Linked DNA regions of Homo sapiens: all the other regions are linked to region 1. The links are contacts of gene promoters, found by promoter capture Hi-C in blood cells and fetal thymus (Javierre and others, 2016). All regions are on one chromosome and are shown on one strand. The core of a region is centred on a gene start or on the middle of the fragment in contact, and the rest is flanking DNA. Distances in the headings are between cores, read along the strand shown. Region 1 holds the start of CDYL2 (chromodomain Y like 2). Region 2 overlaps DYNLRB2-AS1 (DYNLRB2 antisense RNA 1). Region 3 overlaps CDYL2 (chromodomain Y like 2). Region 4 overlaps CDYL2 (chromodomain Y like 2).

What was found. The method cuts DNA at HindIII sites, captures the fragments that hold promoters and counts their contacts. A CHiCAGO score of 5 or more calls a contact.
Region 2: a fragment that was not itself captured here is called in contact with the fragment with the promoter of CDYL2 in region 1 in 4 of 17 cell types (megakaryocytes, non-activated CD4 T cells, endothelial precursors and 1 more); the score reaches 6.9 in megakaryocytes.
Region 3: a fragment that was not itself captured here is called in contact with the fragment with the promoter of CDYL2 in region 1 in 2 of 17 cell types (endothelial precursors and erythroblasts); the score reaches 5.5 in endothelial precursors.
Region 4: a contact is called between a fragment that was not itself captured here and the fragment with the promoter of CDYL2 in region 1, in 2 of 17 cell types (endothelial precursors and megakaryocytes). The highest score is 15.7, in endothelial precursors.

Annotation. Positions count from the first base shown.
Region 1 is chr16:80,802,973-80,806,176 of GRCh38, forward strand. CDYL2 (chromodomain Y like 2) reads right to left here and starts at 1,626. Exons shown (of 7, transcript NM_152342.4): 1 at 1,178-1,626. The coding sequence starts at 1,201. RefSeq lists silencers at 407-556, 837-906, 1,517-1,826, 1,847-1,906. The HindIII fragment of the contact is 3,614 bases long and covers 1-3,204 here.
Region 2 is chr16:80,558,760-80,561,963 of GRCh38, forward strand. All of the region lies in intron 1 of DYNLRB2-AS1 (DYNLRB2 antisense RNA 1), which reads right to left. Among named protein-coding and RNA genes, the nearest start is that of DYNLRB2-AS1, 2.8 kb to the right of the region's middle. The HindIII fragment of the contact is 2,980 bases long and covers 38-3,017 here.
Region 3 is chr16:80,602,696-80,605,899 of GRCh38, forward strand. CDYL2 (chromodomain Y like 2) reads right to left here. Exons shown (of 7, transcript NM_152342.4): 7 at 1-1,851. The coding sequence ends at 1,693. Among named protein-coding and RNA genes, the nearest start is that of LINC01227, 31 kb to the left of the region's middle. The HindIII fragment of the contact is 8,354 bases long and covers 1-3,204 here.
Region 4 is chr16:80,622,802-80,626,005 of GRCh38, forward strand. All of the region lies in intron 3 of CDYL2 (chromodomain Y like 2), which reads right to left. Among named protein-coding and RNA genes, the nearest start is that of LINC01227, 52 kb to the left of the region's middle. The HindIII fragment of the contact is 2,662 bases long and covers 258-2,919 here.

The sequences.
Region 1 (3,204 bases), core at 376-2,875:
GTTCCGGGAAGTGCAGGTCCAGGCTAACCCATGCGGCTGGTTTCACGGAGGCCCAGAAGGCCCTCTGGTTGAAGATGGCTGGTCTCTTAACTTCTTTATCCTGAACCTGGTCTTGGCGGCCAACACCTCTGAGGCCATTCCCTCTGGGGAGTGGTGGCTGGCTGTTCCTTGTGTTGTCCACTTGTGGAAAACCCAAAGCAGTAACAGTTGTGTTCCTAAGCCCTTGCTCCCCAAAGACCATGGGTGTTCCTCCATTGTTTGAAAGATGCCAGACTAATGTCTTCCTTCGCCACTTTTGGGAAGACATGAGAGTATCCAACGCTGGCCACTACTCATTAGGACCTGGAGCCAGGTATCCACTGAGGGTGACGAGAGTACTGGGCGCTGGGCTGGCATCTGTGTCCTATGTCCCCAACACCTCAGACTTCCACGTTCTCCTCCCACCCAGGGCCCTCCGCAGCGCCCCCTTTCGCCCCCAGGGAGCACGACACCCGCAAGGGCCACCCCCACGCCCGAGCCCGGAGGGCGTCCGAGCTGGTGCGGGGGCAGCAGGTGGGGGGTGAGGGAGGTGGCCCGGGGACCCCGGGGAGCGGTTTGGCGGTTGTCCCCCCGAACCCCCACCCAGCCTCCCCCTTCGCAGCCCCCCGGGACCCCGCCTCGCCCCGGCCAGGCTCCGCTCCGATCGCCCGCCCCCCTCCTCCCCCGCGCCCCCGGCCCAGCCGGGCCGCGCAACCCCCGCCCCACACCCCCGCCGGCCGCGGCGCGCCCCCCCGCATTCCCAGCACGTCCGGCGCCGACTTTTACCTGTACTTTCTGTACTCGAGGCGGCTCGTCGGGCGAGAAACACCTCCCCGGGACCGCTACCTCCCCCGCCCCGGCTCCGCCCGGCTTCCTCCTTCCCCTCCAAGGCCGCAAAGTAGATGGAGTAAGAGAGTGTGTGTGCGAGAGAAAGAGAAAGAGGGAGCGGGCGCGGGCGCCGCGGGAGGCGGCGGGCGGCGGGCGGCGGGCGGGAGGCGCGCCCGGCCCCCGCCACCCTCCGGCCGCCGCCGCCGCCGCCGCGGGCTCGGCAACTCCGGATTGCGCCCGGCCCCGGCCCCGGCCCGGTCCCCGCCGCCCGCCGCCGCCGCCCGCCGCCGCCCGCTGACTGGGGCCGGCCCGCGCCCCCGCGTCCCCGTACCTCGTAAAGGTCCCCAGAAGCCATGCCAGGCTGCGGAACTTGGCTCGCCGGTGTGCGCGTCTGCTCGCTCGCGCCCTCCGTGCGTGTGCGCGCGGGGTCCGGTGTGCGCGTGTGTGTGCGCGCGTGTGTGTGCGAGTGTGTGTGGTGTGTTGAGTAAACTGTGTTTTTGCAGAATGACAGGCTTGGGGGCTGCCTATGCGCAGAATCAGAGCGGGCGGCGGCGGGGCTGGCGTAACCGGCAGCAGCGGCGGCGGCGGCGGCGGCGGCACGAGCGCGGGCAGCAGCGACGGCCGCGCAGCGCGCCCGGGAGGCACGGACGCGGCCCGAGCGCCGCGGCCCCCGCGACCCGGCGACCCGGCGGCGGTGGCTGCAGCCGGCAACGGCTCGCCCCGGCGCCGCCTGCAGGAAGCCGCCCGGCGCCCGCCGCCGGCCCGGACGCTGCTGCCACTGGGCGAGTCCCCGCCCCCCGGGAGCCCGGCCCGGCCCCCGGGGCGGGGAGGCGGGGGCTGCTGCCCGGCCGCGCCCCGGGGGACCGGTCCCAGAGTCGACTAGCGCTCGGGCCCGCCCCGCCACCCCGGGCCGGCTTCGGGAGCAGCTGGCGGGGCCCCCGGGGGGCGGCGGGCCAGGTGCCCGCCGGGTGCGCCCGATCTGGGGCCGCGAAGGGGCGGCCGGGGAGCCAGGTAGAGGGCTGCGGCTGCAGACCTCAGGGAAGGGGCCCCAGCCGAGCCCCGCCGGCCCGGGGTCCCCACCTACCTCCTCCACCCTCGAGGGGAGTGGACGCCGCCTGGGAGACCTGGCCCCTCGGGGCTGCGCGGCCCCTCCCTCCAGGCTGGGTTGTAAGATGTGGAGGCCACAGGGAGGAAGGATGAAATGGCCCATCCAGAGGCACCATGGGGATCCAGGACAGGCGTGGCCACCCCATAAACCCTGGAAAGTCTTTAGAGCCAGGGGTGGCCTTCCCTCAACAACCCCTCTCCCCGAATTTATTCACTCATCCCTTACTCAAACATTTACCAAAGTCAACCCAAGTGCACAGTGTCCCTGGACAGGCAAAACTGGGACCCTGCCCAGAGACAGTTTGAATCCGCAAGTGAGGAGTGTAATGGAGCACTCAGTTGTTCTAAAAGGTCATCCTGCGTGTGACAGGCTGCGGAGCTGGAGGAGCTAGAGAAGCTCTCCAAAACCCAAATCCGTTCCTAAGCCATCTCTCATGGATAAATGGTCACCCCTCTGCTTAAAGGGTTCTCCTTATAAATATTTATGTATATAGTTACTTCAGAACCTGCAAGGTCAGACTTCTGAAATTGGAGGGAAGATCTTCATCCCCACCCATGAAATGCCTGCCTGGCTCCAGATGTGATGTATCATTAACTCACATGCTCCCTGGATCATTTTCTACTTGGGAGGCTGTGGGCAGGTCACCGAACCCTGATGGGAGATGGTGATAGTCACCTAAGTGATTTAAATAGAATTAAGGAGAGGATCTACGTATACATGAAGTGACCTGTCCATCCCAGCAGAACTCAATAAAGGTGATTTGTATCTGAGTCTCAACCTGGACTGCCCTCATGGAGAGTGAGATGGCAGAGGGGCTCGATAAATTGTTTAATCCTGAGGTTGTCAAACTTTGAAAAGTCACCAAATTTTTTAATCCAAAAAAAAAAAAAAAAAAAAAAAACTCCATGGAACCTGAAGCATGTCTGGCTCATTCCAGGACACATGGATTTGCATTTGCTGTTCCCCCTGCCTAGAATGTCCTTCCACATTGAATCCATCTGGAACATTCTTGTTCTTCGTATAGGGGCTTGTTTATCTTTGTATCGCAAGCATCTTCCACTGTTCCTGAGAGAGAGTAGGTACACAGTGATTGTTTTTCGAACTATGCCAATATAACAAATTTTATACCAATTTCTAGTTAAAATCCCGCATGAAGATAAGGAAAAAATGGTGAGGATAAGGAATTAATAAATCAGAAAGCATATTTGGCTTAGAAACTGTTGAAATTGTTATAGAACTTCTCTCTTCAT
Region 2 (3,204 bases), core at 278-2,777, 240 kb before region 1:
CAAGACAGGATCCTGACCAATTAATTAGCAGCTTCAAAGCTTGAAGTTCTCAATTCACATTGCAAAATGAATCAAGGCAGGTCACTGACTCTCACAGGCCTCCTTCTGTATCTGCTCCTGCACAACTTTCTGCTTCTTGAATAGCCTCAAGGAAATATCTGGAGCCTCCTGATCAATGCCAGGAGAGCAGAAGGCCCGGCTTCTCAGAACAGGCTCCAGCCATCTCAGCTGCACCCTTTGGGGAGCATAAATGGGAGGCCTGTATCAGCAAGTCCCACATCTCTGGGAAAAGAATCATCAGACTGCAATGCCCCAAATGGTGCCAGCAGCCAGATCTTGTATTCAATATGAGCTTTAAGTTGTTCACCAACTCTGAACCTTTGCATTGGGTATTCGGTCATATCTCAGGGGAAGTGGAGGAAAGTAAATGTCTAGTATCGCCAAGAAAAAAAATTAAAAGCACAACACCGTCAGTGAGGGCAGGAGGACAGGAAAGGGGATATTATCGGACATGTTTACCTATTCTTGCCAAACCTGGCAATTTCCAGGAGAGGCAAAGAGAGATTATTAACCGTTTATGAAATCTTGAATTAATAAAAACGCTGGCTCCATCTAAGGCTCTAACGGAAAGAAGGTGTGCTTCTTAATCAGAGAACCATTAACCAGGTGGCATCCCATTCTGCAAGCATTTAACCATAATTGCTTTAAGCCAGGCACACTTTATGCCCGTGAACAGACATGGGTGACGTCAGGTCTGCCTAAAGGAGCTCCTGGTGTAATAAGGGAAACAGGCATGCAGAGATGTACATGTTCAATACAGTAAGTTAATAGCAGCACATGAAGTATGAGTGAGGGACAGTGGAAATGCAGAAAAAGGACTGCTGGTGTGCATGGTGTTTAAGGAAAGCTGCATTAGGACAGACACACCTGAGCTGGACTATAAAGGGGGAATAGGAGTTTACGGTGGAAAGAAGAGAGAAAGCACTATCTGGACAGAAGGAACCCCAAAGGAGGGCATGCTCTAGGCAAGTGGCTTTTCAAACCTTGCTTTAGGAAACAGTAGCCTTTGCTCACACAGAACCTTGATCAAAGGCCAGCAAAGCTACTCTCCATGAAGCAGGACGGGGCTCCTTTTCCATGCCATTCTCTCATCCTGCCCTTGGCCACTCCACACTTAACACACAGTGGTCCTCACCAGAGTCTCATGGAACCCCAGGGCTATACAAGCAGACTTAGGAAACCACTGAACTAAGCAATACAAATTCTGCATTTGCAATGGTTAAAGTCAGAACTGGGATGGCCTTTTGAAAGTTTTGATACTGTCAGGCCACCCTAGATCCTTCCAGTTTTACTCCCCTCATCAAGTCTGATGACTTCATTCTTTCTTTGGAGGTGTCTGAAATTACCACCATGGTCACCTCCTGCAAAATCAGTTAGTTGTGTGGGTTCCCCATCTCTCTTCACATCTGGAAATGACTTACAAACAAGGATCTATCTTCTCCCTGCATTTTCTCCCACCAAAACCCACAAATTTTATTTAATGAAAAGTCACATAGCACTCAATATACCTGGACAGTGTCCCAAGCCCCTCCCAGATCTAACCAGCACCAAGTAGATACTTCATAAAAACTTGAATTAAAAACACCCTTTCAAATCTCAGCTTATTTTTCAAGATGATCTATTCCAGGGTTTTCCACACTTGCCTGATCATAACAGCAAGTTATGATACTTAAAAATCCTGGTACTTAAGAATCCAGATTCCCAGGATTCTGATTATCACTTCTCGTGTCTTTCTTTTCCAAGTGTGGTCAGGGAAGAGCAGCACCAGCACCACTTGGGAGCTTGTCAGAAATGCAGAATCCTAGGCCCTATCCCAGACCTACTGAGTCAGAATCTGCATTTAACCCGATTCCTAGGATTTTCTCATTCCCATTAAACTTTGAGAAGCACTACTCCAAGTCAGGGGACTTTATTCCGCCACCCCCCACCCCCAGCAAATGCCCTGGAGGAGAGGGGCTATAATTGGGAAAGTGGGTGAACATAGCAGCTCCATCGCTCTTCTCTGAATGAATCTCCCTCCACTGCCAAGTCCAGGCCACCCACAGCCACAGTCAGGAACCCTGAGAGAAGAAAAGGACTATTGTATATAAGTCAAGGTATGCCCCCATCCTGACTAAAAGAAAGAGAAAGCAGACTCCTGTAAAATCCACCCAAAGTAGGGAATCCTGATTCCCCAGCCAGGTTTCATGCCCCCAAGCATTTGTGAGTTCCCAGGGGAGCCTCAGGCTGCCAGTGAGCCAGTCCACCCATTTTCCATGTGGCATCTCCATGACCTTCCCCTACACCTCCTCCAACCCTCTTCCCTTGGCACTCACATGTCCACAGGACAATGCCATTCCTTCCAGAACTACTGAGTTCTGAACATCACAGACACTTCCTACAGGAACCACTGAACTAGAGGATACAACCCCACTCACCTGCCACCACCATGTCCTCCCATGCACGATTGCCACCTGCAAGGTCCGTCTGGAATTAGAAGACGGGAGTCCTGTTTGGGCACCTTGGGAAGTCTACTCTTTGAGTTTTCACATTTCAGAAAGTTTCCTAGATATAGACCTCATTCTCTAATCAGAATGGTTCTTTCACTCAGAGAAGGTGGTCTTACCAAGTTAAGCCTGCTTGTCGTGACTTCCTCTTCACTTAGGGTGAGTTCTTTCCTGGGAGCTCCTAAACATGCATGCAAACGTATTTCTGATAGAGACAGCTTATTCATCGGCTAGATGTGCCTGGATCCCAGTGTGAACACAACCTGGGCTCAAACCAGGTTCCTAGAGCACGTGTGCAACGCAGTGTAGAGTAAAGGAGTCTATGCTTTGTTATAGTTATTTATGAATGTCACCCCACTTGATTTCAAAATTACCTAGCCTGGCAGGCCTTATTAATCCCATTTTTCTGATAAGGAAAACGAGGTTCCTATGAGGGCAGTATCTTGCTCAGAGCTGCACTGTTTGACTCAAAGCTTCTTGAGTTCAGAAACTAAGCCTTATTTCTCACTATCTGTCTCCCCAGACCCTGTGCATTGTTCAGTATCTGCACTTCGTCTGTGCTCAGCAAATGTCTGTTGAATAAAAGAGTAAACGAATTGTGAATGTGGCCACAATCCACATCGGCAGTGGTGGGGATGCAAATAGGGACACATGCTTT
Region 3 (3,204 bases), core at 258-2,757, 200 kb before region 1:
AAGAAGGGCCAAGAAAGGCTGGTGCCCAACAGGAAAGGGGAAGAAGGGGAGGGCCAAGGGCCTCCAGGAATACGCAGGGGCTGTGATAGAAACGGAAAAAAATCCCTCCATCCTGAGAATCTGAGAATCTAGCTTTTTCTGGGTGCTTGACCCATGGTTTAAACCTCACGCAGAACACATCCCTTCCATTTGTCTGCTCTCAACTTCAGGTTTTCCTGAACTTTCTCCTCACCACTCAAAACCACAACCCCCAATCCCTCCTTCTCTGTAGTTAATCCAGGGACTTGAATCTGATGGTCTAACACAGCTGCTGGAGTCCCCTTGCAGCCCAGGGGCACAGGGGCAAGGAGATCTCATTCCTGGTCATTGCTCCCTATGTACATAAAAAAACTAGAAAACAGATGAGTCATTTCAGCTTCTGGAGGGAAAAGATTCAGACCTCCAGACAGCTCAGCAGAGTGGGAACTCTTCCCCATCCCCCTGGCCAATACCAGAAATCACTGATCACATGGAAGCAACAGACTGCAGGATCCAAGTTCAGTCATTTGCCCCAAAGAAAGAAGTCTTATTCTAGACAGTATGCTATTCTCAGGTAGGGCCTATCCCCACTCCTGCCCAACATCACGCAATTTGGGACTGGGTCTGTTTCAGGATCATTCAGGCTAAGAGGGCCCTTTAACTCCTTAAAGACAGCAGAGGGAAGAAAAAACTCTCCCAAGATGTCTCCTAAGGACAAACCTAAGGAACTAGTATTCTATTATTACAGCTGAGAACCGTTTTACACAGAGGTGCAGCGCTATTCCTTTTGTCCACAGAAATCCTTCTGTTTTCATCTCTCTAAACTTTATTTCTACATGGTTCATTGCTAGAATGCACCAAACGGCATGAACCTTGTGTGGGATTTGGTCCAGGGTAGTATGAAAATAGTATCTGTGTGAACAACAGACATCACAATATATAAACAAAAATAAATAAATAAAACAAGTCCAAGGAAAGAAAAAACATTTCCCTAGTAGTTTGTTTTTGCAAAACTAGCTTTACATATAATACACATAAATTATCAGAATTTCCACTTACATTGTTTTAAAAATATATATTTAACAAAACATTTCTAAATGTACAATATCTGGGTTTGCAAATCACTCAATTGGGTTTTAAGACCAAGCCCTAATAGTCACACAGATTTGCGTCGGAAAGGAGACTGAGGCCAGGTGTGCACAATCATTTTGCTCATTGGTCTGGAAATTCCCTAAGATTGGTCGTCCTCTGACACCCGATCTAAATACAACCAGAGAGAGCCATGATGGCCAAGTCTCCAAGTCAGAGGCACTGTGTAGACACAGCCTGAGTCAGAAGAATGTGAAAGTGGTCTTCCCCTTCCTGGACCGTCATGGTGCATTTCAGCAAGTGGGGAAAGGACAGCGGTGCTTGGCGGAGCCCTGGGAAGATACAGCCTTGGACAGCTCTCTGGCCAGGAAGGGCAGGGAGGTGGGGGAGGCCAAGTATGCTGCGTTTTCCATCCATTACACAAAATCAAACCAAGGAGGAGCAACCAAAGGACACGAGGAAATGGACACAACCCTACGTATAAAGAGACACCTTGACAAACTCCTTGGCCGGGGCAGACACTGTGCTCTGGTTTCCGAAACACAGGGCAGAGCTGGAAGTTGGGGGCCCGTGAGCTGGGGCCCCTCAGACTTCATAAATTTTGTCCTGCAGGTAGCTGAAAAGGGAGTCAAGGCCTTTGGAGGAGCTCCAGAGCTGCTTGAGCATGAGGCATTCCTTCTCGTTCACGTCTTCCAGCACTGATTTCAGGAAGCTCCGCACGAGGCATTTGGACTCCTCTAACACCTAGAGGGAAATAGACAGGCCTGATTAGCCGGGCACCAGGGACTCTGCTCCAGAACTAGGTACCTGGCCCATGGGGCACTGGCCAACCTCCCATACTCACAGCCAGAGAAGGCTGCCTCCTCCAGCCTGGGCCTTCCCAGTCCCATGTTTCCAGCACGGCCATGAATGGATCCCAGATGTGTCAAGACGTGAACACTGTGAGGCCCTGGGATGGCTCAGTGGGGCCCATGTCACCCCAGACCACTAGAGGCTTGCCTGTTGCCCAATGGTGATACAAACACAGAGTCCTTTTCTATAGGTGTCATGAAAAAGTGTGGGAGACACTGTTTTAACCTCCCGTGATTCATTTTCATGATCTGTTGGCAATAACTCAAGGATCACTGAGAACACAGAATAAGACGATGAAATGAACGAATGGTTGTCACATACAACTCACCCTGAGAGCAATGCCCCGTGTTCAGGCTACAATGTTAGTAATCATGGTAGTAACAACTAATAACACTCAAGGCTATCACCTTCATAATCATTATAGTAAAGAGTAAAAATCATAGGAATGAATAACAATCATCACAGCCATAGTAATAATTGTAGTAATGAGTAATAATGATCATAGTAATCATGGTTATAAATGTAGTAGCTGCTGTCCACAGCTATGATAAATGATCATAAATGATCTATGATTATTCATTACTAAAGTATTACGTATATACACATATTATGTATTATATACATTATATATACGTATAAACACATATGTATATAGGTAAACACATGTATATATGTATATACACTATAATATATACATATTATATTATGTATATGTATAATATATAATTATGTATATGTATTATATATAATATATACATATTATGTAAATATAGTATTAATCCCACAGTGTTACTATGATGATTACTACCATCATCATAGTAATGAGCAATAATCATAGTAATAATAGTCACAACAAAGAGCAATAATCATAGTAACAATAGCAATAATAATCACAGCAATGAGCAATAATCATAGTAACAATAGTAATAATCATAGTAACAGTAATCATATTAATGAACAATAATCATAGTAATAGTCTTAGTAATGAGCAATAATCACAGTAACAATAGTAATAATCATAGTAGTGAGTAAAAATTCATAACAGTAATAGTAATACTAATAATAGTAATGAGTAATGATTGTAGTAATATTTGTAATAACTATAATAATGCCACTATGATCACCATTATCCAACAGGATCTAAGAGAAATACTTTTCCTGAATTCTTTCATTTACTTCTCATGATAACCCTGCAAGTAAGTAGTCTTTTGATCCCCATGTTACAGATGCAGAACCCAAAGCTCC
Region 4 (3,204 bases), core at 339-2,838, 180 kb before region 1:
AACTGTGTTTGCGCTCTTCAAAGGCATGCAGCCCGGCTATTCAGCTCCTCATCACATGAGCAACTATTTTTGGATGAGCCTGAAGGTTACAGAGCACTTGCCCATGAGTACTTGCACCCCCAACCCCTTGTGAGGTGGGCATTATTATTAGCTCCATTTTATAGAAAGGGAAACTGAGGCTCAGAGAGAAAGGTGACTTTCTCAAAGCAACATGTCAGGAAGTGGCAGAGCCTGCACTAACAGACTGGCCAGCTCAAAGCTTCCTGCGGAGATGGTACAAGCTCTGTCTGCCCCAAGCACTTTCAAACTTCGCTGCTCAAAGTGTAGTCCTTGGAACAGCAGCAACACATCCCTCAGGAGGTGGCCAGAAATGCAGAGTCTAAAGCCCCAGCCCCGACGTATGACAGGGGGTTCCAGAAGGTCCACATGCGCCTCTGGGGCTACGGTTGGGCACAAGCTCCACTTCTACCCCACAGTATCTTGGGTGTTCTGGGGTGAAATCAATAGCCTCTCCTGGTCTCCCTATTTGTAAAATTCAGAGCTACCTCAGATGAACCAACAAACAAGATGCAAGTAGACTGCTTAGTGCAGTGCATGGCACATACCCTGCAAGATGTCCCCGTTTATATACTGACCCTACGGAACAGGTCAGCTTCTGCCCCAAGCACTTTCAAACCTCACTACTCAAAGTATGGTCCTTAGACCAGCAGCTTCACATTCCTAGGAGCTGCCTAGAAATGCAGAGTCTTGGACCCCAGCCCAGACCGACAGGATGAGTTTCTTCATGTTCATGGGACCTGCAGGAAATTCATATGCATGTTATTGTTTGAGAAGTGCTGCTTTACGATATGAACTCACTTAGCCTTCTGGGGGAGTCACTTGTTGAAGCTCCATTTTATGAATGACAAAATCAAAGTACAGTCACTGTGAGAAGTTTGCAAGTATGGGGTGGAGCTAGACTAGGACTCAGGAAGTCAGACTTTGGGGACCATGTCCTTCACCGCAGGCTAGGCTGCCTCTCAAAGCATCAGGGCTTTTCATCTGAAGACCTCCACATGATAGCAGTGTGGCTACGGGAGCAGCAGGAAATGAGCTCTGTGATGCCCAGGGGAAAGCAGATCCTTCTCCCCTCCCAGACTGTGGATTTTAGGATGGAGCCAGGATCTGAAAGTGAGCTCCTGCCACATGCTACGTTCTGAGGCCCAAGCATCATCCAGACCCTCCAAGTCTGTGTACTGACTGAAGCAATCCCCCTCACACCCCTGCATACTCCCCGACTCCTTCCAATCACAACCTTGCAGCAACACTGCGTATCTAGACTACACAATGTCTCTTGGGTGCCTGGTATTCACAAGGACTCAAGGCAGTTGGCCAGGCTGAAAAGGTACAGGCTTTGGAGACAGGAAGCCTATGATGGAATCGGCTTTACCACAAACAGGCTCAGCCCTTCTAGTCCTTCTGCTACCTATTTGCCATACCACAGTCAGGACAAGCCACTCCAGCAAATAATTTATTTTTGCTGTAGGAAAACTCTCCCATGAGAAGCTAAAACTCCATACCTGCCCTGTATGTGGATTTGAAGTTCTGAGTTACCACACCCACATGGGGAAGAATCCACAAGATAAAAAAATTAACACAGAAATTGGACACAGGCTAGTAATATCCCTGAGGTGTCTGATGGAAATGAATGTAAAAGTACTCTGGGGAGAAGCTGCAACCCAGACCGCATGGGAATTACACAGGAAAAAAAACCCTAGCAGGAGATGAGCTCACAATCAAAAATCACAAAACACTTGGGAAATACAAGTTGGCATACTCAGCAAATGAGCGGATTACATAACATGACTTCAAGTAATACAAGGATCCAAAAGAGACTGTAAAATAGGGATGTTTCAAATAATCACAGAGAGGAAAACAGACATGAACAATAAGGAAAGAACAGGAGAATATGGGGAAAAAATAGATTTGAGGAGAAAAAGAAACTTCTGGAAATGAAAAACAAAGTCATGGACATCTGCTGAGATCAACAGCAGATTAGGTGGTGCTAAAGGGAGCATAAAGTAACTGAAAGACCTGAAGTAATTGACCAAAACGTAGCACAGAAAAACAGAGATGGAAAATATAACGGAGAGATTAAAGACAAGAATGCTAAGATTTAAAATTGGTGCTGTAGGGATTCTATCAGGAGATCACAGAGAAGAGGAGAAAGTCAATATTGAAAGAGATAAAGGATGAGAATTTAACAGAATTGATGAAAGATCCACTAGTTTCCTATGGCTGCTGTAAAAAATTACTATAAATTTGGCAGCATAAAATAACATAAACTTATTATCTTATAGTCCCTTAGGTCAGATGTCTGATGCAGGTTTACTGGGTTAAAATCAAGTTGTCAGCAAGACTGCATTCCTTTGTGGAGGCGCTAAGGGAGAATCATTTTCTTCCCTTTTCCAGCTTATAGAGGCCACCCACATTCCTTGGTTCCTGGCCCCTTCCTCCATCATCAAAGGCAATAATGCCGAGCTGGGTCTTCCTCACCTTCTCAGTTTGTGTCACTCTGACAGATTCTTCTGCTTCTCTCATCTACATTTAAAGACCCTTGTGATTACATTGAGCCCATCCAGGTAGTCTAGAATACTCTCTATTTTAAGGTCAGCTAACTGGCACCCTTAATTGTATATCTGAAACCTTAAATCCCCCTAGCCATGGAACCTAGCATAGTCATAGATTCTGGAGATTTGGACATGAACATCTTGGGGAGAGGGCTTCTATCTACCACAGACTTGAATACTAAAATTTAAGAACTACAACAAAAAGCTAAGCAATAGAAATAACAATACACGCAAGCACAGACATATCATATTTAAACTTCAGAACATCAAAGACAAAGCAAAACCTTAAATACATCCAGAGGAAAAAGAAAGCTTACCTACAGAGGGCAAATATTTAACCGGAGGCAAATTCTACATAGCAGAAATAAATTCCAGAAGGTAGCAGAATACAATTGTCAAGGTGCTGAGGAAAACAACTGTCAACAAATTCTTCACTCAGCTAAATTCACTTAAAAGGAAGGGTAAAAATTAGGCATTTTCAGTCAAAGAATGTTTACCATTTTTAGACCCTCACTAAAAGAACTAAAAAGGAATGTACTTCAAGAAAAAGAAACTATATTCAGAAACAAAAACTGACCTGCAAGGAATAATAACC